Regions from separate parts of the Homo sapiens genome. Here region 2 is linked to region 1. Evidence: promoter capture Hi-C in human tissues and cell types (Jung and others, 2019). All regions are on one chromosome and are shown on one strand. The core of a region is centred on a gene start or on the middle of the fragment in contact, and the rest is flanking DNA. Distances in the headings are between cores, read along the strand shown. Region 1 holds the start of LIN9 (lin-9 DREAM MuvB core complex component). Region 2 overlaps ACBD3 (acyl-CoA binding domain containing 3).

Region 1 (6,453 bases), core at 2,139-4,638:
AGCCAGACCACAAAGGGTCTTATAGCTACTAAAGGGTTTGTAACAGGAGGATGACATACATTCGTTTTGAAAGGATCCCTCTCGCTGTGTGTTTGTGGGAAGGGGGCTGAATTAATGAGAGGCTGAGGTAATTGGTAAAGAGAAGAAATGGTAACAGTTTGGGCTATGCTGATGGTAAGAAATGGGTAGAATTGATAGATATTTAGAAGGTAAAATTTACAGACTTAGTAAAGGCTTAAATATGGGAAGTGAAAGGGAGGAAAGTGGCTGGGGGCGCGGTGGCTCACCCCTGTAATCCCAGCACTTTGGGAGGTTGAGGCGGGTGCATCACCTGAGGTCAGGAGTTTGAGACCAGCCTAGCCAACATGGTGAAACCCCGCCTCTACTAAAAATACAAGAATTAGCCAGGTGTGGTGGCGGGCGCCTGTAAACCCAGCTACTCAGGAGGCCGAGGCAGGAGAATGGCTTGAACCCGGGAGGCGGAGGCTGCAGTGAGCTGAGATCGCACACTGCACTCCAGCCTAGGTGACACAGCAAGACTCTGTCTCAAAAAAAAAACAAAAGAAAAGAAAGAGAGGGAAGTGCCAAAGAAAATCTCTAGGTTTCTGCCCTGCCAGCTGAATGCACAGTGGAACCATTCGAATCACTAGAAGTATCTGTCCTGGGGTAGGACTGAGGTGGATTTTAAACCTGTGCAGTTTGAGGGGCCTTTGAAGCATCTAAGAAGAAATGTGAAACAGGCAAGAGATATCAAGAAAGGGAGCTCAGGAAAGATCTGGGCTGAAGATAGCCTTAATTTCCTTATATAAAATGTGAGCACTTACATCAACTGAAATGAAGATTAAATGAGCAAATACATGTAATATCCTTTGCATGGCATCTGGTTCATAGTAAATACTCAATAAATGGTAGCTTTCATTATTGATAATGTTATATCGACTCCTGAACAATATATTAGCTAGCCTCCTTGACTAAATGTGGCCAAAAAACATACTGCTATTTCCAGTATCAAATTGAAATCGCTTTTCCTTTTCAAGACCCTGCTCTAGTTTCAGTAATAATACCTGTTACTTTGCACTAATTCCATAAAAATTATTTATGTATACTTGATTTGTGGCACTGTATGACAAAGAAAGAAAGAAAATCCCTGGTTTCAACAAAGCTGAAGTCTACCTAAACAAGACATACGCTTCACAAATACACACCAATGCACCAGAGATGTCACAAAGTAATATAAATGATTAGGTTATATAATTTGAAAGTGGAGCTGGAATTTGAACCCTAATATAAATCCCAAGTCCCTACAAAGAACCACAGTAAATTCTCAATAAATGCTGGATGATATGAAGCAAATATTCCTAATGGCAGTTGTAAGAAAGCCACTTAAAATGCCTCTCATTACAACAGAATGACTACAGTAACCAAAACAGTAGCTCTAGTGATTGTGACATCCAAGAGGTGATAAGACATGTTTATGATAAAGATACCAAGGATGATGAAAAACATTTTCGGATGACAAGTACACTGTGCTTAGTAGGTCCACACTCATTTGGGAGCATTCTAAGTCACAATCAAGACCAGCTGCGGTGGCTCACGCCTGTAATCCCAGCACTTTGGGAGGCCGAGGCGGGTGGATCACCTGAGGTCGGGAGTTCGAGACCAGCCTGACCAACATGGAGAAACCCCCATCTCTACTAAAAATACAAAAAAATTAGGCAGGCGTGGTGGCACATGCCTGTAACCCCAGCTATTCGGGAGGCTGAGGTAGGAGAATCGCTTGAACCTGGGAGGCAGAGGTTGCAATGAGCCGAGATAGTACCATTGCACCCCAGCCTGGGCAATGAGTGAAACTCCATCTCAAAATAAATAAATAAATAAAATAAATCACAATCAATTGTATTCTACAAATAAACAGTACAGCTCATGACTGGTCAATAGCTGTGCCCTACCCAATACAGTGACTACTAGCTACATGTGACTATGCAAGTTAAAATTAAATAAAATTCAAAATTCAGTTCCTCCATCACTCTAGCCACATTTGAAATGTTCCATGGCTACATATGGCTAGTAGCTTGGCTGCCCTACTGGACATCACAAAAGAGAACAGTTCTATCATGGACAAAGTTCCTTGGGGACTTAGTGCTGCTCTCTATCAAATTTAAAACACAAACACTTTTAATACGACTTTTCACCAGCTTGGCAACTTGAATTTTTAACTTTATAACTTACTAAGAACACATGACCTCACAAAGAAAATGGAATCGGTAGTATGTTGAGTCCTCATTTTTAAGTCCATTTGCCTTGTGCATAGATAAGATTCAATAGTAATTGAGCCTTTCACAAATATGTATAAACTGAATAGTGAAAGTGGATTCAGGACTTTTTTTTGTAATTAAATAACATATTTGTCTTTTCATATAATTTATGCAATATTGTAAATTACAAAATTAAGTTCCATTGCCCTTAAACTATGGAATTGGTGCTTTTACTTACTCAACACAAGTGAGCATACATGTCTTAGATGTCAGGGTGAGTAAACATGGTTAGGGGAGGCAATGCCCTAGGGTGGGTGTCAGGCAGGGTACACGTACGCTGTGTTGGTCACATCCATGCATAAAGGTACCTTTATGGCTCTTAAGACACATATAGAATAAAGTCTGCGGGACGGGGTCTACCTGAACACTGAGTATCCGGGCTGGATGATCTCAGGAAAGGTCCACAGCCACCTGTGGTCCCAGGGGAAGGGGCCAACCCTCTGACACGGAAACACTTCCAGGGGTGGACACACCGGTGGGGGGGTGGGGAGGACAGTGAAGATCACAAGTGCCCGTAGAGGCAGGAGCTGTGACAGGACAAGATCAGAGGCTGGGGCAAGAAGAAGGGGCCGTGGACCACCCCGTGCCCAGCCCGAGCCCTCCCCCGGCCCCGGGACAGGCGAGTTACATAACCCCGGCGGGCGTCTCTCGGCGCCGGGCGAGTGGTGCAGGCGGCGAGGACAGCCCCCGCGCCCAGGGGCCGCTCTTCCCTCCACCTCGGCTGGGGGCCGGAGTGGCGCCAGGGGAGCAGCCACCGCCTCCGCCTGGCACAGGCTGGACTCCCGGGCTCTCGGTTTCCGGCCCTGGCGCTCACACAACCCCAGAAACCAACACACAGACACCATAACAAAGGCGGCGACGCGGCGGCAACACCGGAGTGGGAGGACTAGGGGACCACAGTGGGGCTGGCAGTCAGCCCACCTGCCCAGCGGAGGGCACGGCCGTCCGTCCCGGCCGGTGCAACCGCTGGGCAAGCAGCAGGCGGGAAAAGGGGGGGGTGCTTTGAGGTGCTACTCACTCTCGTCAGGCAACTGGTCGAGCTCCGCCATCTTGAACGAGCCGCGCCGCTTTTTCAAAGGCTGCCCGCCGCGGTGCATTGTGGGGCGGAGACTGTCTTTGCGAGGGAGGTTCGAATGCGGAGCTCGCTGCCCGCGGCGCCGCGCTGCGCTGCTCCCGCCGCGGCTGGCTGAGGCGGGCCCGGCTCCGCCCGCGCCTGCCCGGGGAGGAGGTGCCGCCGAAGGGGGGCCGCGCCTCGCCCCTCCGCCGCCGCCTCCGGCCGAGCCGGGCGGGAGGAAGGGAGGAAGGAGGCCGCACGGCGAGGCCCGGCGCCGGAGCGCGGGGGGAGCAGTACCAGCTCCGGAGTCCCGCCCGGGCCCCGCTCCCGGCGCATGTTCCGCGGCCCGCGCTGCAGCTGCGGGAACTGCAGGCTGTTTGTTCCGAGTGGAGAACGGGAGGGAGGCCCCGGCGGGGGGAAAGAAGCCCTCGGTTCTGGGTCGCATTGCCCGAGGGGGCTCTACGCAAAGTGAAATACTCACAGTTCCCGAAACCCACGTTGCTTGGGCGCCTCCGTCCCCTCACTTTTCCCGAGACCGCCGGCCGCAGCAGCCCCCTGCGCGTCGCGACGTCCGGGACTCGGTCCCAGCGGCCCCTCGCGATCCGGGCACGCCTTTCCCGAATGTTGGAAGCTGAGCTGCGTGCAGCCGGGGAGCGAGACCTTGAGAGGTCATGAAGTTGGTCATTTAGGCCGACAGCTAAAGAACTGTTCTGCTCAGCTGTTTCATCCATTCGACACTAGATCGTGCAGTGGGCTGGAAGAGAATTAGAAAACGAGTAACAGGAGGCTTCGAGAGGATACAGAAAGGAACAGTGACACTACAAGGTGATAAAGTACCTGATCCAAATGTTATGAGAATACTGGACGAGAATTGAACGAAATTGAAAGAAGCCCAAGGAAAAATTTCACAATATCTGTCTGTAACACTTTCCAGTAATAAAACACTGTTGCTTTTCAAAAATTCATTTAACGAATGTCATTGAGCTCCAATCCTTTTCTCCAGGAATTTATGGGGGTTGGAGGAATGAGACCGTTAAGCAGTCAAAAGACAACGTGGGTGAATTCCAGGAACTACAAAGTTAAAAGGCGGTAGACTAAGGTGACAGAGTGGTACACAGAGGCCCGCCCAGGCTAAGGAGTTGAACTTGCTTAGTCCACTGGAGCAGTGGAAAAGTCGGGTGTAAGAGGGGCACGTTTCTATTTGTGTTTTAGAACAAAAATATGGGAAATGGATTGGTGGGGGACAAGATGAGAGCCTAGAAACCAGTCAGGAAGAAGCTTATTTGGGGCATGCAAAGGACAGAAGAGAGATGCCTGCACTGGTAGCTAGAGAGGTGCAGCGGGTGGGCTCTGGAGCCCCAGGGCCTCGATGGGAAGAATCCAGATGGGCTGCTAGTTGTATAATCTCAGGCACGTTGGTTTCTTAACCGAATTCTCTGTGCCTCAGTTTCTTATCTGTAAAATGCAAATAACAGGGTTATTTTGAGGGCTAAACGATTTGATAGATGTAAGGACCTTATACTAGCTGCTAGCACCCATCAGCTAGCCACTATTACCACCATTACCACAGCATAGGCAGTATTAGAGAGAGGTGGCAGCATGCACTCCACCTTTCAAGACGTGGAAAATAAAGGATTGGGTGAGTCACTGGGTGTGAGGAGAAGGAAGTCTCATTGCTGATGCCAGCTCTGTGCCTTGGGTAACTGGGTGCTGCCATGCTAAGGTAGGAGGGAGAGCAGGGAGTGAGCAGGGAGGGTGAAAGTTCAATTTTACAAAGTAATCCTTCCTTCAGAGCTAGCTTAACCTCTCCTTTGCCTTCTAAACACACTCTGATCTGCTCCCTAAGAAGATTAAAACACTGGTCCTTGTTGTCAGCACCTAGGGGGTGCTTCAGCAGCTTGCACTTCAGTATCAATTTGGAGATGAGATCAAGAAAAGGTCAGCCCTTTAAGAATGGAAGAATAGAAATTAAAAAAACATGAGAGGTTACCAGAGTGGGAGAAGCAAAAGCTTTGTGAATGTCATGATAGTCAAGGTGTCATTAGACCAAGGCAAACCTGGTTTTATTCTGAGGCAGTTTTCATGTACACGCAACAACACAACTACTGTTTAAATCAATGTTTTTAGGCCCTTGCCTGATAATCTGCATTTTAAACAAAAACTTTGACTCTTCTCATAAATCCAAAGCCTGAAGCTGTATCCTAGCCCCAGATCTAGCGCTTAGCTGTGTGATCGAAGCCAAGGCACACCTAACTCTTCAATAAGTTTCGTTATTGAATATTTATGACAGGTTTTACAATGATTGGCTTACTTGATTCTCCCAACAACCTGGTAATTTGTCCAAAGACAATGGCAAGCAAGTGCTAGAATCAGGAATCTAGCCCACTTTTCGGTGCCTCAGTGACTCCCTCTGTGATGGGAGGATTACACGTATGTCTTTGTCCATTTGTGCTGCTATAACAAAACATCTGAGACTGGGTAATTTATAGACAACAAGAATTTTTTTTTTTTTTTTTGAGATGGAGTTTTGCTCTTGTCACCCACGCTGGAGTACAATGGTGTGATCTCGGCTCACTGCAACCTCTGCCTCCTGGGTTCAAGCGATTCTCCTGCCTCTGCCTCCAGAGTAGCTGGGATTACAGGTGCCTGCCACCACTCCTGGCTAATTTTTGTGTTCTTAGTAGAGACAGGGTTTCACCAGTTTGGCCAGGCTGGTCTTGAACTCCTGATCTCAAGTGATCTACCTGCCTCAGCCTCCCAAAGTGCTGGGATTACAGGCATGAGCCACCGTGCCCAGCCGACAACAAGAATTTATTTCTCACAGTTTCAAACGCTGGGAAGTCCAAGATCAAGGTGCCAATGTTGGTGTCTGGTGAGGGCAGCTCTCTGTTTCCAAGATGGTGGCTCGTTGCTCCATCCTCTGGAGGGGATGCATGCTGTGTCCTCACATGGTAGAAGGGACAGAAAGGCAAGAGAACACCTCCTTCAGTCTTGAGCCCTTTCATAAGGGTGCTAACCCCATTCACGAGAGCAGAACCCTCATGACTTAATCACCTCCCAGAGGCCACACCACTTAATACTGTT
Region 2 (6,051 bases), core at 3,152-5,651, 150 kb before region 1:
TCAGTAACTTGCCCAAGACTATACTGCTAGCAGATGCTACAGCCTGATGCAAATCCAGGCAGTTTGGCTCTAGAGCTACACTAATTTACCACGATGCTTTAAGATGATGGATTGTCATCTCTGACATAGATGAGGTATTTAACTGTTGGCTATGGCTTCTGTACCTAAATACATAAAAAACAGTAAGAGGCAGAAGAATAGCTGGAAGATGTTACAGGTGGCCCTGGTAAGTATAAATAAAGCCAGTGAAAAATTAAGGGTCCACAGCATTTAATTTAAAGCCTGTCTTAATAGAGGAAATACTGAAAATATCTTGGCATGCTTAGTTTAGAGATACTCATATTCTTTTATAGATAAACCACATGCTTCTTCTTTTTTTTTTTTTTGAGACGGAGTTTCACTCTGTCACCCATGCTGGAGTGCAGTGGCGTGATCTCAGCTCACTGCAACCTCCACTTCCTAGGTTCAAGCGATTCTCCTGCCTCAGCCTCCCAAGTAGCTGGGATTACAGGCACCTGCTACCACGCCTGGCTAATCTTTATATTTTTAGTAAAGACGGTTTCACCATGTTGGCCAGGCTCGTTTCAAACCCCTGACCTCAATCAAGTGATCCGCCCGCCTCGGCCTCCCAAAGTGCTGGGATTACAGGCATGAGCCACCACAGCCAGCAACCACATGCTTCTTAACTTACTTATGTGACCAACTTAACAGAGACCTCAAAGCCATCTATTAATAGATAACAAAGCAAAGCCTCACAAACTCCTACATACAGCACAACATTCGATCCACCTAGGACAACCTCCCCCAAAAAAGAGCTGCATTCATAGTCTTTCTCCAAAGTTGAATGAGGGCCTGGATTAGTTTGAGGCTAGCACTAAACCTTTTTCTGAGGAACTACCCAGAAATAATGAGAAGAAATCAATGGACTCTCATGTTCTCTGGTTTAACCTACAAGCCATGCCACCCCTACAAACTCAGACTTACTTCCCAGTGTTTTATGGGTGTTAATCACTGCCTCCTTGTACCCACAGCTCCCTCTTGAAGAACCTGTCAGTCTCTGAGTCTCAAAGCCCTTACTGAGTAAGCAATAGTTGAAGCCTCCAAATCTTGTACTAAGGACTATAAATGGATATCTGACATAGACTGGACCAACAAGATTCTCTGTCCTGGGAAACTGCAACTGGGTCTCACAGATTCCAGCCAGTCTCTGTCAGATGCATGGAAACATAGACCAAATAAATCCTCGGACAGCCTTGCATATGCCAAAGCAGACAGTTGACAATTTGCAGAGAGCAAGGATGAAGCAGAGACATAAGCTGAGAGAAGCAGAGACAAGAAACAGAGAGCGCAACCAAGCAACCTCAGCTCCTGCTTCCAATCTCTGGGTTCTGCAAGTGAACCCCCAAACCTTCTAATACATTCCTTTTTTTTTTTGAGACGGAGTTTCACTCATTACCCAGGCTGGAGTGCAATGGCGCGATCTCGGCTCACTGCAACCTCCACCTCCTGGGTTCAAGAGATTCTCCTGCCTCAGCCTCCTGAGTAGGTGGGATTACAGGCATATGCCACTGCGCCCAGCTAATTTTTTGTATTTTTAATAGAAACAGGGTTTCACTGTGTTAGCCAGGATAGTCTCCATCTCCCAACCTCAGGTGATCTCCCAACCTCAGGTGATCTGCCCGCCTCCGCCTCCCAAAGTGCTGGGATTACAGGCGTGAACCACCACACCTGGCCCGCTCATTTCTTATTTTTATTCTATTTTTTTTCCATTTCTCATTTTAAAACATAAGCCACATAATAAACTTACTTTTGCTGCTCCAACCGAAGCCTTTCTTCTTCTATCCGTCTCCTTTCCTCTTCCTCCCGTCGAAGCCTTTCCTCTTCTTCTCTCCTACGTTTCTCTTCCTCCTTTTGCAGACGTTCTCTTTCTTCCTCTTCACGCCGCCTTCGCTCCTCTTCCTCCTTCCTACAAGGCAAAGATAGAGAATGAACCCTATACGTTGAATCCTGTTTAAAAATAAAACTTTAGCTCCCAGGGAAAACTGACATGACCTTTTTAGAGAACAATGTGGATATATACATCAAAATTTAAAATACATACACTTTACTAGCAGAAACTTATAGGGAATCAATCGCACAATATACAAATCACATCAAGAATAATTATTGTTGCACAGCAACAGAAATGTGTCCATCATAAGAAACTACTTAAGTCATTATGATATTCCTATACCCTGAAGGATCCCCTCTAATATATGCTCACAGCACTAAAAGCTTTTCCTTCATAATACCTGCTGTCATTATAATTAAATTTGTGTGATACATTCAGCAATAGATCTGCATTACCCATTAAACTAGATGCTCCATAGGGGAAGAGACTGCCTATCTCACACCACGACATCCTCAGGGCTTAGCACAGTGCTGGAAAGAACAAGCACTCGACAAACGTGTACAGAAGTAAAAAATCCACCCTGAAATATCGCAGAGCCAAAGGATAGAAATACATTGCCTAATATGTAAAGACATGTAATACACTTGCTTAATGAAAAAAAAAAAGGTGAATACAAAGGAAAAGATCTGGAAGGACATACCCTAAATTTATCAGTTATTATCTATGCAGAGGAGAGTGGAATTAAAAGAAATGTGGGAAAAAAGATTTTTTTCAGTTTGTGTTTCATATACTGCCATAAATGAAAATTTTATATTGCATATATTTGTGTATTATTTCTGAAATTAAAATTTTTTGTAAAGCTTTTAATTTAAAAAAGAACGGTTAACCTCTCAGGGCAGCCCTTGCCCAGCTTTCACCCACCCCACAAGACCCTTCCAAAAAGAACAGATCCTATTGTGCTAGGAATGGACATCTTCCGGGTCTGAGAGTGGTATGGTGTTCAGGGAGCCTGCAGACAGGATGAAAGGGAAGATTTCTAAGGAGTATCAGATAAGACACTATTTCATAAACCTACCACGAGAATTGTCTGGGCTACCTCACCTTTCTCCCCTCTAACTCCTATAAGTGATTAACAACTACCTGAGCCACAGCCAAGTCTCAAAATATTGTAATAACATGACCTATTTTTTTTTTTTTTTTGAGACAGGGTCTCACTCTGTCACCCAGACTGGAGTGCAGTGGCACATTCTTGGCTCACTGCAACCTCCGCCTCCCAGGCTCAAATGATCCTCCCACCTTAGCCTCCTGAGTAGCTGGAATTACAGGGACCTGTAACCACATCCGGCTAATTTTTGTATTTTTTTTTTGTAGAGATGGGGTTTTGCCACGTTGCCCAGGCTGGTCCTGAACTCTTGGACTCAAGTGATCTGCCCGCCTCGTTCTCCCCAAGTGCTGAGATTACAGATGTGAGCCACCACAGGCGTGAGCCACTGCACCCGGCCATGACCTACTTTTAATGTGTCACAGCTGGTACAGAGCAAGAAGGTTCACAAGCCAGAGCTTAAGCTTCAGGATAGATGAAGTCTACTCTTAAACACTTTAAAATAATTCTATGTGGACTTTATCCCATGACAAAAGTATATTTTTAAAACGAAAACGCAGCTCTATATGTTGAGTAGTAACTTTTGACAATGCTTAAGAGAAATATGCATATATATCATTAAAATAAGAACTTAAAAAGCAATATATAGATACTTCTACAGACACCCTAGCGATACCTGATTGATCCAACATCACTACACAATGGACTGTAGGACATAAATCAATTTTCCAGTTAAAGAAATCTCATTCTTTTCTCATAAGAATCAAAACCTTTCCTTTAGATTAAAAAAAAAAATTTCTTTGGATAAATATCTTCTGAAAATGTAATCAAGCAATTTCCTATTATCTTAAATAGGAATAAATCATATCTAATGTTCCATCTCTTGATAACTCAGGGGTTACAGCTGTAAACATAAAAATTGTACATCATACTATTGTAATGGAGAAGTTTACCTTCATATTAAATGACCCCTGACTGCCATGCTTTTATAATTCTCGTGTCTATTTTTCATGCTTTCTATTATGTCCCTAATTATCAAGCTATTTTCTCTTCTAATCTGTTATTTCTAATCCAGGTTAAGGTAGGAAACCAGAGAATCAATTGTTTTTAAAGAATAACATCGGCTGGGCAAGGTGGCTCATGCCTGTAATCCCAGCACTTTGGGAGGACCAGGCGGGTGGATCACCTGAGGTCAGGAGTTTGAGACCAGCCTGGCCAACATAGTAAAACCTCATCTCTACTAAAAACACAAAAATTAGCTGGGTTGGTGGCAGGCACCTGTAATCCCTCTCCCAGCTACTCGGGAGGCTGAGGCAGGAGAACTGCTTGAACCCAGGAGGCAGAGGATTGTGTCACTGCACTCCGGCCTGAGCAATAGCAACAGAGCAAGACTCCATCTTAAAAAAAAAAAAAAAAAAAAAAAAAAAGTATAACATAACCTGAAGAAAAATTGGTTTTGTAGCATCATTTTCATCACCTAAAATTTTAGATAGTCAAAATTGATGAAAATATAGCCACTAGAAAAATAAGGTGTAACTATAATTCTAATTCACAACTACAACAGAGAATCCCATAAGCATAAACAGCACATTCAGTAGCTCCTCCTCCAAAACTTGAAAATAATCAATAAGCCAGCTGGAAGCCAAAGCCAACATGAATGTCTATATAAGGTAGCATAGTTGCAAACCATGAAATGGAGCATGAGGATTCTAGAAGCTCGAGGGAGACTGCAACAAAGGGTATGTCAGACCAGAGGATAGGGAGGAGGGAGTGGTTGAGTTTATGGTGGGGCTTATTCAGAAACTTAGTGTAATAAAACAAAAGGAAGGCTGCCATGATGGATGGGAGGTTCCTTTTAAAGGCACGGCCAGTAGGAAGCAGTCCTCCCTCCCCCCAAAACTTATAATACAAGTACCTGTTCACATCAGGAAGTTTGAACAATTGCCACAAGAAATGGGGATCCAAGGAAAGCAAGACACCTGATCTAGAACTAGAACAGACACTCTACAAAACAAAAGCATCAGTACACTGGGCTGCGCAGCAATAAAGTATTCCATGCCCTCAAACTTCACCTTTTTTTTTCTTGCTCTTCCTTCTCTATTTTGTGGGACGCAACATATGTTGAAAAGAGATGGCAACACCTATTTAAGAGCTTGACAAACTCCACCATGGCATCCTCTTTAGACATGTTTCCCAGGGCTGCCCATTCTCTCCTGTAAGGAATAACAAGAAAAGTTACCTCCCCTTCTTAGTAGAATGAGAACTTTTAAATTTAAACCTAAATATGAATAATTCTCAATTGTAAGTAAAATGAATGATTCTATTGGGAGCAAAAGGCTCAAAACTTCAAGTTTTAACAAGTATGTATTGATTTACTAAATTAGATACGCCACATACAATCCAAACAACTGCATTGCTGATGATTCCCATATAGCAAAAGAGTATCAATTTTTCTTTTTTCTTTTTTTTTTTGAGATAGGATCTCACTCTGTTGCCCAGACTGGAGTGCACTGGTGCGATCTTGGCTCAGCAGAACCTCTGCCTCCCAGGCTCAAGCGATTCTCCTGCTTCAGCCTCCCGAGTAGGTAGGATTACAGGCATGTGCCACTACCGCCGGCTAATTTTTTAATTTTTAGTAGAGATGGGGTTTTACTATGTTGGCCAGGCTGGTCTTGAACTCCTGACCTCAAATGATCTACCCACCTCGGCCTCCCAAAGTGCCGGGATTACAGGCATGAACTGCCGCACCTGGCCTATTTTTCTTATATAATATTTGAGCCTTAATTAAACAAAAATACTCAATGTATTCTTTTTTTGTCACAATTTTTTTTATGCCTCAATAAGGGAATCAATTACTATATATTTTAAATGGCTACTTTTAATATTATTTGGGAAGAATCAAATGAAGCTCTACTTGTCTTATGTTCATAAGCAGATGAATACAGTTCTTCCACAATATTTAACCATAAACATCTCTAAGCTAAAAACAGATAAATATCTGAAGACTCCAGAAGCTGCAAGCAAAAATGTTCAGTTCTTATCCTAAGCTAATGAACCA

Evidence for each region. Contacts are between HindIII fragments. The study calls those that stand out against the background at their distance.
Region 2: a contact is called between a fragment that was not itself captured here and the fragment with the promoter of LIN9 in region 1, in 1 of the 25 tissues and cell types used here (hippocampus).

The regions. Positions count from the first base shown.
Region 1 is chr1:226,305,776-226,312,228 of GRCh38, forward strand. LIN9 (lin-9 DREAM MuvB core complex component) reads right to left here and starts at 3,389. Exons shown (of 15, transcript NM_001366245.2): 1 at 3,334-3,389. The coding sequence starts at 3,364. RefSeq lists an enhancer at 2,522-3,288 and silencers at 2,842-3,071, 3,492-3,741. The HindIII fragment of the contact is 7,036 bases long and covers 1-5,013 here.
Region 2 is chr1:226,159,724-226,165,774 of GRCh38, forward strand. ACBD3 (acyl-CoA binding domain containing 3) reads right to left here. Exons shown (of 8, transcript NM_022735.4): 3 at 5,066-5,206; 4 at 1,808-1,966. Among named protein-coding and RNA genes, the nearest start is that of ACBD3-AS1, 15 kb to the left of the region's middle. RefSeq lists an enhancer at 4,130-4,299. The HindIII fragment of the contact is 3,778 bases long and covers 2,513-6,051 here.